2 separate regions of the Homo sapiens genome follow, and region 2 is linked to region 1. The links are contacts of gene promoters, found by promoter capture Hi-C in human tissues and cell types (Jung and others, 2019). All regions are on one chromosome and are shown on one strand. The core of a region is centred on a gene start or on the middle of the fragment in contact, and the rest is flanking DNA. Distances in the headings are between cores, read along the strand shown.

Region 1 (6,083 bases), core at 2,573-5,072:
ACAACACTGTTAAGTATCTTCATAAACTTTTTATGCTGAGCATCTGCTTACAAAAAAGGTTAACTCGCATCTAACTAATGTTAAATGTAAGAAATGAGTCTTGTGTTACCCAGTTGGGACAAATTCCTGGCTGCGGAGTTAGAATGGGAAAGTTACAGGCAGGCTCCTGTAGTCAGTCATTGATGAAGTTAGGAGAGCTTGACTTGAGAAATCTCACCTTTTGAGCTGCTTTAGAGGGACTCTTGTTTTTGCTGCCTTTGGGTCTTCCCCTGGGTCTCTTAGGAGAGGGCTCACCGGTTGGTTCCTAATTGTGAGGGAAAAAAAAATGCTGTTGTGGCAAGAATGTCTGAAAGAAATTGACCCTGACTCTTTAGCTATATTTTCTGCATGTGCTGCTCAAAAGAGCTGTTGGAACACGTTCAGTTCAAGCATAAATGGATGATGATGGTACAGAGTTTACAGAAAGGGGAAATAACTATACTTTTAATGCAAGGGTTCAAAGAGGAAACTCTATTTTGTATATGAAAACTAGATTCTACTTCAAACCTAAAATGGTAACAAAGACTGAAGAGGCATGTTCTAGAAAGAAAGTCATATACTTTTAAGGTGTAAAGTTTACAGGGCTATGCATTTGGCAACTCATAGGAATAATAGGCATTTTAAACGAACACCACTCTGCATTATACTAGCATTTCAAACAACAGAAATACGAAGCTACCATCACAGATATTTCAACAATCTTCCATATTGAAAAGGTGGCCTTTAATCATCTTTGTATACCTGCCTTCTAGGTGGATTATGATTCAACTGACACATTTTGAGTGAAATACTGGAGCAATTATTCAAGTTCTTCAGTTCAAAATAACTCCATTCCCCCTAAAATTTCCAAATAATTATAGTAAATCTATGGTGGGAGGTTTTGCTTGAATCATCTAGTTAATTGCTTCAATTCTCCACTTCCTTTTGGAGATGCAGGCATGGCCTCCAGTCTAAATTTAAATATCTTTTGATAAAAATAAACATATTTTCTTCAAAACTTTCTTTTGAGAAAACTCTTATGGGGGTGGAGTGGAGAAAACTAAAAGGAGGTAAAAGCGAGGAGGAATGGAGTGTCTGGGAATGAGAAATGGAAGCAATCACTTGGTTTAGCAAAACTTTAAATGGCTCCTATGCCAAGTAGTAAATACTCAAGTGGTTAAGAGAATGCGATGATTAATATTCCAGATCCCAAATATTTATCCAGTGAATCATCTATTCACATTTCATTCAGATTCGGTGATTAAGTGAGACTAATTAACTTAAAACCCATGAACGTCCTCAATGAAAATTCGCATCCCATTTAGAGAATTCGGGAAGGTTCCCTGCAAGCTTCTGTGGGACCACTAGCACCAGTGGGCACATCGAGAGCAAACACATCGGAGACAAATTTTTCTTTCTTTGTGAACTCTGCCTTAACTCAAAGGTAAAGTATCCAATCACCTCCAGACCCCATTGTAATTTCTTTTGGATTTTTTTTTTTTTTTTGGAGGGGGGGCAATTAGTGAGTTAGAACTGGGTGGCGGGTGGGAAACAAGTGGGGGAGGGCAGAGACTTCCTGGGAGGTGTAAAACAGGATTCAAATGCGGTGTAAAGTGTCGCTTGGGCAGAGCGGGAAAACTCAGGGGCCTCTAGATCGGCTTGTTTCCTTTGATGATTTCAAAAAGGTACAACTCTCAATTTTTCTAAAATGCACTGGCAAGCAAACATTGTTCAGTTTCCCCACCTTGCTCTCGGACAACTTTGGGACTCTAGGATTATTTTCTAATCGGCGTGTTTGCCATGAAGGAAGCGATTTAAGACTAAGCAGAGAGCAAGTTTTAAAGCCCGAGAAAGTGGAGTTTAAATGTTCTCAATAGACATATCCCGCTCCAACTCTGCCCGCCGCGGCTTGGAAATTACAGCGAACAAAACCCCCAGCCCTGCGCGCTGAGCGCAGCTCTGCAAGCGCCGGCTGCACGCTTAATTGGTTGCATCCGCAGACAAAACCCTCCACTCCGCAGGGTCCCGGGCGCCCCTCGATCGTCCCCTACTCAACCCCCGGCCACTGGCCTTGGAGAAGAGCATTTAATGGCTGCAGCTCTGAGGCGCGAGATCCAGGGGCAAAAGGGGGACCGGGCCCCTGACAAGGAAGCGACCCTGGCTACCCTGCACTCTCTTGGACACTCCTTTCAACGCGCCCTTAGCTGGGCGAGTTAACCCCGTCCTGCGGGGAACCAGGCTCCCCGTAGCCCCTGCCCCGGGCTCCCTCCGGCGGCCGCCGCATATTTAAAGAGCCCAAAAAGGACCAGGCAGCCGGGTCTCCATGCGTTCTTTGTCGGGAGGGCGCGAGTCTTGGGCCACCGAGAGCTTGGAGGAGGGCGCCAAGGGGGCGGCTGCGGCGCGCCAGCCCCCGACCCGCGAGCAGCCCCGGGAGGCGGGAGAAAGAGCCTCCGGCCCCCAAGACTCTAGCCCCTTCAGCCCAGATCGGCCGAAGCGCCCGGGTCCCCGGCACCTCCTTCCTCCCGGGCAGTTGCAAAAGCAACTCGGAAAGCGCCTGCGAGCCCGGGTTTGTCGGATCCCGGTCGCTTCCAGTCACTGGGCGACACCGCGCCACTCGGGGCCGTGCACAATAGCGAAAGTCCGAGGACGCGCTTCGCCCGACCCCACCTCCCGCCTTCCCCGGGCCGCCCGCCGCGGCTCCCCACCTCCCCGCCCGGAGGGTTGCTGGCGCCCCGGGGCCGCGCGGCGCACTCGTGGGGTCTGCGCCGCTCCCCCCGGCCGGCCGGCGGGCAGTGTGCGACGGCCGCGGCGACTGGGCTCCCGCACTCCGGCCGCCCCGCGCGTGTCTGGGCCCCGGCAGTGGGGACGGGGTGGGCTGGTGCCCCCACCGCGCCCTCGTACTGACTTGCTGCTGCTTCCTGGGGCGGCCGCGTCCTCTCTTCTGAGGCGCTGGGGCGGCAGGTTGTCCCTGGGCTGAAGTGGACGGCTGCCCCGCGCCCTCACCGCGTGCGCTCATCCTGCCTCCCGCCGCCGCTACCGCCGCTGCAGCCGCTTCGCCTCGACCGCCCCGGAGCTGCCCAGCACCTTTCGGGAGATGAGGTGATAGGGCTGGGGACGCCGGCGGGGCGAGCGCGAGCTGGCGGGCTGCGAGGGCTGCTGTTGCTTAGGCTGCCGCCGCTGCCACCATCAACACCGGACGTCCAGCGGCTGCCAAAAAGAGAAGAGGGGAGGAGGAGGAGGAGAGGAGGAGGCGCTGCCGGTGGCGGCGGCGGCGGTGGGTGGGTGCCGGAGGTGGAGGTGGCGGTGGAGGTGGAGGTAGCAAGAGGAGGAGGGAAGCGAGGGAGAAGGAAGAGAGGCTTTGAGGTCGCAGAGGCTCCTCTCGCGGGTTGGGATCAGGAGTTGCGGGCACCGGGAGCACTTCGGAAGCGGCTTGGAAAGGGAAGAGACTTGGAGTGAATTGTGTCCCTTGAAATGTTAGGCGGGGAAAGAATTCCTCCTCCTCTTCCCCCCACCCTGCGAGAGAGAGAGAGAGAGAGAGAGAGAGAGAGAGAGAGAGAGAGAGAGAGAGAGAGAAGAGATTGAGATTGAAAGTGCCTTGGGCAGTCGGAAAGCAAAGGAGGATGGGGAGACTCCGCCGGGATAGGGTCGGGCACGGAGCACAGGCAGAGGACAGAGTAGTGGGTGGCACCGCGCCTCCTAGGGTGGCGGGAGCAGGCAGCGGCGGCACCGGAGAGTCGGAGGGGGACGGGCTGCTAGCTCCTGAGTCTTGCACCAAGCGCGCGCTGCCCGGGCTGGAAGTTTTCTGAGTTCCTGCCCCAAGATTCAAGTGGGATGAGTGTGTGTGAGTGTGTGTGAGTGTGAGTGTGTGTGGTGTGTGTGCGTGCACGCGCTTGCGCTTGGGGAGGGGGTGGTGGTGGGGGGAGTGCCCACCTCTAATCGTGGGCGGATAAAGGGGAGGGGGTTGCGCAGGAAGAAAAGTATGAGGAGGAGGGAGGCCAGGCGGACCGCCGAGCCAAGGCGCCTGGCTGCTAGCCAGAGGCAGCGTTCGAAATACAACTGCCTCGGCGGCGGCGGCGCCCGGGTGCCACCCGGAGCCCCGCTCACGTGCTCCCGCCCGGCGGCGGGGTTAAAGGGACAGGCCGGGGATCCCGGGCTGGCTCGCCGTGGGCCTAGCTCCACCCGCCTCTCGAGGTCACCCCTGGGCAGTTGTCCTGGGAAGGCGCGGGAACGTGACTGTCCCGGAGCCACGTTTCGGGGCTTGGCCTTTACCTGCGCCTCTACCGTGCCGAGCCAACACTTTGCAGGAAGCGTCTAGGCTGCACCTCAGGCAGCGCACCGGTTCACTGTGAGTGGGAAGGGACTGCAGTGGAGTGGGAGAGGTCCCCTGACAGCCGTACTCCGCCTCGGAATGCCCTCACCACAGAGCCTGCGGGCGGGCGAGCGCGCACATACACGGAGACATGCATGCAGATACACACGAACACGCGTGTAAGCACATGCACGCAGATACACGTGGACACGGGGGCATTCATGCGCTGGTAAACACCCGCATTTACACACACACACATACACACAGGCACGCAGATAGACATGCACATTCGCAGACACATGCAAACAATGTGCACACACAGAGCGCCCCAGCTTCTTCATTGAACTTTTTTCTCCAGGAAAGACTAGAGGCAACCGAAGTTCCCTCCCCATCCCCCTCCCCGGGAATCCGATGTTCCCAGGGTAAAGGGCACCTTGTAGATTCCTAACACCACAATTGCACTCACTGCCCAACTCTCCCTTCAGTTTACCTCGATTTAACCTTCTGCCTGAGAACTCTCTTTCTGCCAAGTCCTAATTTTATGGCCTGGGCTGTTCTGAGTTATGTGAACACCATAATGGCCACAGTCCGTTTTTAAAAGGTGGAGTACATTTTTAAATGTACCTCTTTTCATCCTTGAATAACACAAAACTCTGAAAAAATTAGGTTCAGATTTTCACACATCACACCCAAAATTATTTTGGACTAATTCCAAAATAAAAACTTTCACCTGGGGAAGAATTTATTTTTTTCAAAGATACAGACCACCGTGGAATAAAAACGCCTACTTTGCAGCCCTAAGCAGGAGTTAGGCACCGCCAGGTTCCGCTGTGCATGTGGAGGAGGCGCGTGTAAATGTCTGCTTTGGCGCGGCAGCGCTGATTGGTCCGCGTTGCCATTTTAAATCCATTTCCAGCTGCCCTTTGCAGAGCTGGGACACTTTGCTGCACGTTGAGTGCTCTGCAGGAACCCAGGGTTTCTGCTGGGTCTGGGAACGCTTAGCTGTAATGGAGAGAGAGAGCCTCCATCCCTCCGGATGGAGCCCAGCAGCTGACTGGGGAGGGAGGGGTCTAACAGGAACCAAAGGTTTTCTGTCAGGGCTTGGCTCAAAGATGGTATCTTCATCAAAGGGATTGAAGTTTCACCTAACGATTACAGTGACATTTCCTAACTGCCAATCGTGCACATTTAAAAACTATCACATATTTGCACTGTGGTGTGCACATTTCACATACACGTACAAAATAGGTTTTTGGGTTTGTGTTGTTTGCTCACTTTTTGCCAGGAGTAGAGAGAAATTCTGAAGGTGAATGCAGGGGAGTCACTGAGGAGTTCAGCCAGCCAGTTTTGTGCTGTATACCTCATTATATCCTAGGATTTTTTTTTTTTTGGTAACGTGTACAGAGGTCAGCAAAGAGCAGATTCCAAAATTTTGTTTTTGCGTTAATCTTTGAATATAAGAGAAGCACAGAAAAATTGGGGGTGGGGGAATATACAGCCACTTGTTTTCAGGCTGCTATCATTTTGCTATTAGACTATTTGACCCCTTTTGAATTTATAACAAGGGTATAAAACAAATATTGTATCAAGTTCTACTTAAATCAATTTTATATATTTTCATTCTTTGGAAGCTGTATTTAATTTTTCAGAATTCTGTATACTTTCTGTAGGTGAAACATTAAAATTTGTTGTAATCTTTGAAATTATTGAGACTTTTACTATTCAAAAAGGATTCTCATATATTTTTAAAATAATG
Region 2 (6,083 bases), core at 2,223-4,722, 390 kb after region 1:
CAGATCTCAGCCAAATCCTATAGGAGACAGACACCAGAGTTGGGGCAGAAGGATCAAAGGAGGAATGCCAATTCCAAAGGAGCTGGACTGAAATTAGGGGGTTGAGTCAAGAACTTGAAATGAAATGTAGACATAGATGTGTAGGTCTAGCTCCTAGGTGTGGATACAAAGCAGACAGTAAGATTCTACTTGTCTAATTTTCAAAAAAAGAAAAAATGGAGAAAGGACGGACCCCATACACTAAATGAGGAGCCCTTAAGCCAAAAGATTCCAGAAAAGACTGCTGCAAGGGTAATTTGTTCACACTTAGAAAAGTAAGCACCTCAAAGTGCAAAGACTCTCCACCACTGAGGATTTCAAAAGAATATGCCAAGATCTTTGAAAATAAAGGAAGAGATCAAGTACTCCCTGCAGATCAGGTGGTTCAGAAAACCTGAACTGCCACATCTAGTGAGGCACCAGAGATATACAAGTGGAATGGGTCGTCTCTTATTGGGCTGCAGGATAGGAAGCTAAGAGAGAATCTTGGAGACATGCAAAATATAAACCCAAATAGCAACCCTGGGGAAGGGAGCAGTGTAGAGACTTAAAGATTTCCCTAAGCAGAAACTAAATGAAACAAAATGAATTTTTGAAAAGACAAATATTTTCTCAGTCCTGAAAGCTAGGAAAGCTATCAATATCATACAACAACCTTGGAGAAAGACCATCACAGTGAAGCAGGAGGGTGATGAAATTCAGAAAGGCCAGAGTGATAATTCCCAGGTCTGTGGGCCATGGTGTAAAGTATCTCCCTCACACCATTCTGTGCATGATGGTGTGAGGTACTGCAGAAGACTGAGACCAGAAGAACTACTGAAATTTGACATTAGAAAATTGTGGTTGCACTGAATACCATGGACAATTAAAAAAATTTTTTTTTAATTCTAAGAGGAACTTGGAGAAAAAAGATGAAGTTTTTTTCTGGAAGTTTTATCCCAGAAAACAGAAAAGAAATCAAACCACAAATACTTCACACTCTAAAGAAAATTTTAACAGAATATGACTCCATAAGAAATTTTAAAGAAAGATAAATTTGTAACAGAAGAAACTAAAATGAAAAGAGTCAAGGAAAAAAATACCTTTTGGCTACTATGAATAATGCTGCTATAAACACTGGAGAAAAAATACTTGTTTGAGTCTCTGCTTTCAATTCTTTTGGATATATAACTACAAGTGGAATTGCTGGATTATATGGTAATTCTATGTTTAATTTTTTGAGGAACTGACATATTGTTTTCACATTAAGTGTACCATTTTACATTCCCACTAGTATAAGATTCCAATTTTTCTACATCCTCTCCAACACTTATTATTTTGTTGTTTTTTAATAATAGCTATCCTAAGGGACTCAGAATATATTTTTAATGAGTCACTGACAAATTCACAAATCCCTTTATCTCAGATTTACTCATAAAAGGATTAGAGGTACAATATTTGTCTGGAGAAAGACCTTTTCCACTGCATAAAAACGCTCACATTGGCTATCTAACATGTGGCCCCAGCATCATTAGCAACATACTCAAAGCAATTAAGCCAACAGGCTTGAACCACTGCTTCTCTGACTGGTACAGATCTGTCTCTAACTGCTTTAAGAACTAACTATTCTAACTAATGGAAAAAAACATCTGTAAAAAAAAAAGCTACAAATGGGGATGGCGGGGGATGGGGAGACAGGCTGTAATGCCAGATATCTTTGTTCCTATCTTCATCTGCTAAAAAGGTGAGTCAATCCATTTACCTTAGTCAGGATTAGAAGAGCTAGGAGGGGATATAGATAAAGAAGGAAATTAATTGCTTTAATTGTCAGCTTGTGTTAACATATATATCTCTAAATCCCCATTTCAACTCTTATTTTTTGTGGAACCATCAAGCTTTTCCCCCCTTTTAAAATTTTGGAATCCATTCATCTTTCCTTGCCACAAAACAGTCCTGTGCCAGAATCTGGTTCTTTTCTCAAGGGTATAACATTTCAGCTTGTTATAAACAGCATATGGATATAGATTATGTAATGATAATGTGTGCTACATTCCAAGGACTTACATTTTCTGCATATATGTGAATAGCAAGTAATTTTGCATTGATTTTTTTCTACTCTCAAAATAATATACTAATCAACTAAAACATTAACTTGGTGTATTCCTTTGTGTTTTATAGACAGAATCCCTTCTTTTATTGATTTAAAAGTTTAAAAAAGTTATGTGTTGAAGGAGCCATAATACAAATAATATATAACTACCTAGCTTTTGGGGTAAAATTTTAGATTTGTTCTTAAAGAAACCAAAGATACTGAAGTCCAGTGAAAGATTTCCTAATAACCAACTTCCGAATAATTTGTTAGTGTCAATATTCTACTAGCCTTACATTTTGTGTTTGTCCCATGCTGTTTGAATGTAGCCAAATAGCACATCCAGACTTAGACTTCAGTCTCTTCTGTGCATACTCAGCTACTGCCATTTATAAACAGAAGAGTTAGGCATTATCTTTTAAAACACACAAAGACTTGTGCATGCAGATGAAGCTCTGCACATAAGCGGAGTGTGTATTATAATAATCACTAAGAATTTCTGAAACTCGCATGTCAAAAAGTATCATGTTCACTTCCCAGGATTTTTCAAATAGGAACACACAATGGTTCTGGCTTTCCACTATAACCTGACTTTCACCTCCTTCAAAAAGAACTTTAAAAAAAGAAGAAGAAGAAAAAAGTAAAAGGATATCTGAAGACATTTCTCATCGATAGCTACATGGTCCAGTATATTTGTAATTCTATCCCCTTTTCCTTTATACCAAACGAGTGATGAAAACCTGACAGGAAAGGCAAGAAACATACTAACATTAAATCGCTGGGATGTATTCACAGAAATAGACAGAAACGGGCCTAAGTAGGCACAAAAAAATTAATGCTGGAAACTGTATAGGCAGCAAGTGAAAACCTCTCTGTCATGACAGGAGGAGGTTAAAAAGTTTAAGAAAATTTCTGAATAAAATTACTAAGACTAAAGCAATGAAAGAGATTGATTTTTCAATTTTCTTGAAAAACAGGAGTCAACCTGTGACCCAGCTCCCCAGGTATTACATGCAGGCCTCAGGAATACAGTCATTTAGGAAGTAACTGCTTCAAAGAGTCCAGCTAAAACTACAAAGACGTGAAATTCCAATCAGACACCAGAAATTCTTTGGGGAATAAAAGAATTTTATGACTCATAAGATGAAAATCTCCTGAATACTCACTAAAGTAATCTAATGAAGTATTGTCACTAGGAAAGGAGTTTGATGAATTTATGTGTTATGTAGGCAAATTTTAAGCAAAACAAGAAATTGAGCAAACTTGAACTTGTATTCATTTCTAAGTTTTCCTCTCAGGGTAAAACTAACTTTAAGGGCACCAGACTTGCCTGTATGAAGTGGCATTCTGTAGGATGTCACATTTTTAACTTCTAGGATTCTAAGCAAAATTTCACATCCATTTTTAAAAACTAGAACAGGTCAGCTTAGGAGTAGGTCCAGGATTCAAATGTGAGTCATTTTGAAGGTTCTTAGTCTTCAAATTTAATACAATTTGAAAGAAGCTATAAGAATTGAAGGCAAAGGCTTAAGACAGATGCCAACGTAATAAGAAAGAAGGAGGTCAAGTTTTTCCTGAGGAAATTAACAAACAACAAAAACTAGAGATGCGATCATTTTCTTGACTTTCAGATGATGCTTAAGCATAGGAGAAAATCAACACCAAGGAGGCTACCCTGACCTTACTACTTTTTCCATTTATTTTTAACTTAATTCCAATTCAAAATTTTGCCTGTTCTATATGAAATTCTTTTCTAGTAACAGGCTGTAAAAATACAGCAAGCAATGAAAGCCCTCTGTTTAATCTTTCCCAGGGACAAACAGAGTATAATGTACAATATGTATTATAACTATGTGTTAGATTGCAAATTACTCTTATTTAATTTAGTCTAGTGCTTAGCTTCACCTCTGAAATATCAGTCTGCATCCTTCTATTTTGGTTTGATTCTATAGTCCACTTAAAACAGTAAATGTTTACATTAAAAGGACAAGAGAATGTGTGATGTATTTTAACTGTCAGAAGTGTTGTGAACAGCAGCAGCTGGAAGAAGAATGTGTCGTCCACTTCACTGTTACCCTGAAGCCTTTTAGATTCTTCAAACCAGCACTTACATCCTTCAGTGCTCAGGAAAGAAGGAAGGAAGGAACAAAGAAAGAAGGAAGGAAGGAAAGCAGGCAATTCAATTGTCATCTCTGAAAAAAAAATGTAGTAAAATTTCTAGAATTTACATGTGATCTTTGCATTGGATTCTACACTAACTTTCTGCTAGTGCAGGGACTGAACTGGTCACTGGAAATGGAGCTCTTCTTTCATTATTTTAGGTTGCTGGATCATACTGAGATAAAAACCAGAAGCAAATGAAACAAGCTCTAAGCTTTACTTAGAGGTCTGTATGAACTGTGCATATCCAGTTCCTCTGCAATCATCATTCACATCATCCTGAATTCATTATGATATAGCTGTTGTTAAAGGCCTACTCATAAGACCAAACACTGAAAACAATTTCCTTCCTTTAATATTTCCAGATCTGGTAAAATCCCACTAATAAAACTGGAGAGAAATGTATGACACTCTTACTCTTATTGCAGTGGGCCCAGTGGGAACATGGCTGGAGAGAAATGAAGCCTAAGGATATGCTGGAGGATAAGGACAAAATATGCAGAATTTGATTTCAGGCTTGACACATTCAGTTCAAGAAATATTTGAAGGTGGACAAAAACCTGCATGATCCAACTCCTGCCTACCTCTCCAAACACATCTCAAACCACTCTTCCCCTTGTGCTTCAACCACACTGGTCTTCTCTTGGTTGCCGTAACATATCAAATACTTGCTTTCTCTTCTGCTTTGAACACTCCCCCAAGCTCTTTGTGTGGTTGTATTCTCATACTTTCGACCTTGGCTCAGATATCACCTCCTCAGTAGGCTTTCCCTGAAATGCCTATTTAAATGAGCGTCTCCCTCCACCTACCACCATCATTCCCTATCATGGGATCAACAATATCAAAGGGTTAAATAGATCCTTTCTATTTCCTGCATAGCTCCTATCAAATATCATCCCATTTATTTGTTTCCTTGTTTAGTAACTCCTTAATAGCAGGAGCCCTGTCTGTTTGCCACTGTATCTCCTGTCCCTAAGGCAGTAGATATTGACTTAATGGATGTGTTTAAAACTATACTAGAGGCCAAGGGTAAAACAAGAGGCAACCATACAGTCCCACCCTCAAAAAAATTATAAAGACAATAGAGACTGGTAAGTAATCATAAGAGAGCTGTTTTACAAGGGGCATATAATTCTAGTAGAAAGAAACCCCATGTCTATCTTATGGGGAAAAAAAGGATATTCCAAGGGAGGACACCCCATATGTAGGGGCACGAAACAACAATAACAGCACAATGCATTCTGGGGAATTAGTTTAGCGTTTTCTAAAATACCAATTGCTAAAGATGGGGGTGGGAAGTAGAGAAATTGAACATAGACAGAGAAAGGTCTAGGTCATGAAAGCCTTTGATTGCATGCAAAGGGAGGGATATTTCATCCCATAGTCAATTAGAAGCCCTTGGAAAAACTCTGGGCAGAGGGGTTACATGATTAGATTTGCTAGTGCCAATAATGTCGTACTCCTGTTTGTAAACTTATTTTAAAAACTCACTTAATTAAGGAAGGGCCTGAGTCTATGCTGTACCATATATACTCAATGCCCAGTCCATTAGAGCAAGTGTTGAATTGGTGTTTAAAAGAATAAATGAATAATAGGGATGTAACCACAATGGCAGAGTAGGAGATATCAGCTTTCTCCCTTTAGCACCCCCAAAATAAACATAGACAGCTATCTCCAAACAAAATAACCCCAGAGAGTCCCCAAGATCCTATTTAAGATTTTGCAACAATACAGTGGAGCAAAAAAAAAATATACACACAGAAAATAAATAACTGGTAAGATCAGTATACCTGAGATGCCAGGATATTGCCCAGAA

The links. The method cuts DNA at HindIII sites, captures the fragments that hold promoters and counts their contacts. A contact is called where the count stands out against the background at its distance.
Region 2: a contact is called between a fragment that was not itself captured here and the fragment with the promoter of HMGA2 in region 1, in 1 of the 25 tissues and cell types used here (thymus).

The regions. Positions count from the first base shown.
Region 1 is chr12:65,822,222-65,828,304 of GRCh38, reverse strand. HMGA2 (high mobility group AT-hook 2) reads right to left here and starts at 3,822. Exons shown (of 5, transcript NM_003483.6): 1 at 2,924-3,822; 2 at 218-304. The coding sequence starts at 3,034. It also overlaps the pseudogene RPSAP52. RefSeq lists an enhancer at 2,095-2,702. The HindIII fragment of the contact is 9,780 bases long and covers 1-6,083 here.
Region 2 is chr12:65,428,246-65,434,328 of GRCh38, reverse strand. All of the region lies in intron 5 of MSRB3 (methionine sulfoxide reductase B3), which reads right to left. Among named protein-coding and RNA genes, the nearest start is that of MSRB3, 150 kb to the right of the region's middle. RefSeq lists an enhancer at 2,597-3,796. The HindIII fragment of the contact is 5,234 bases long and covers 856-6,083 here.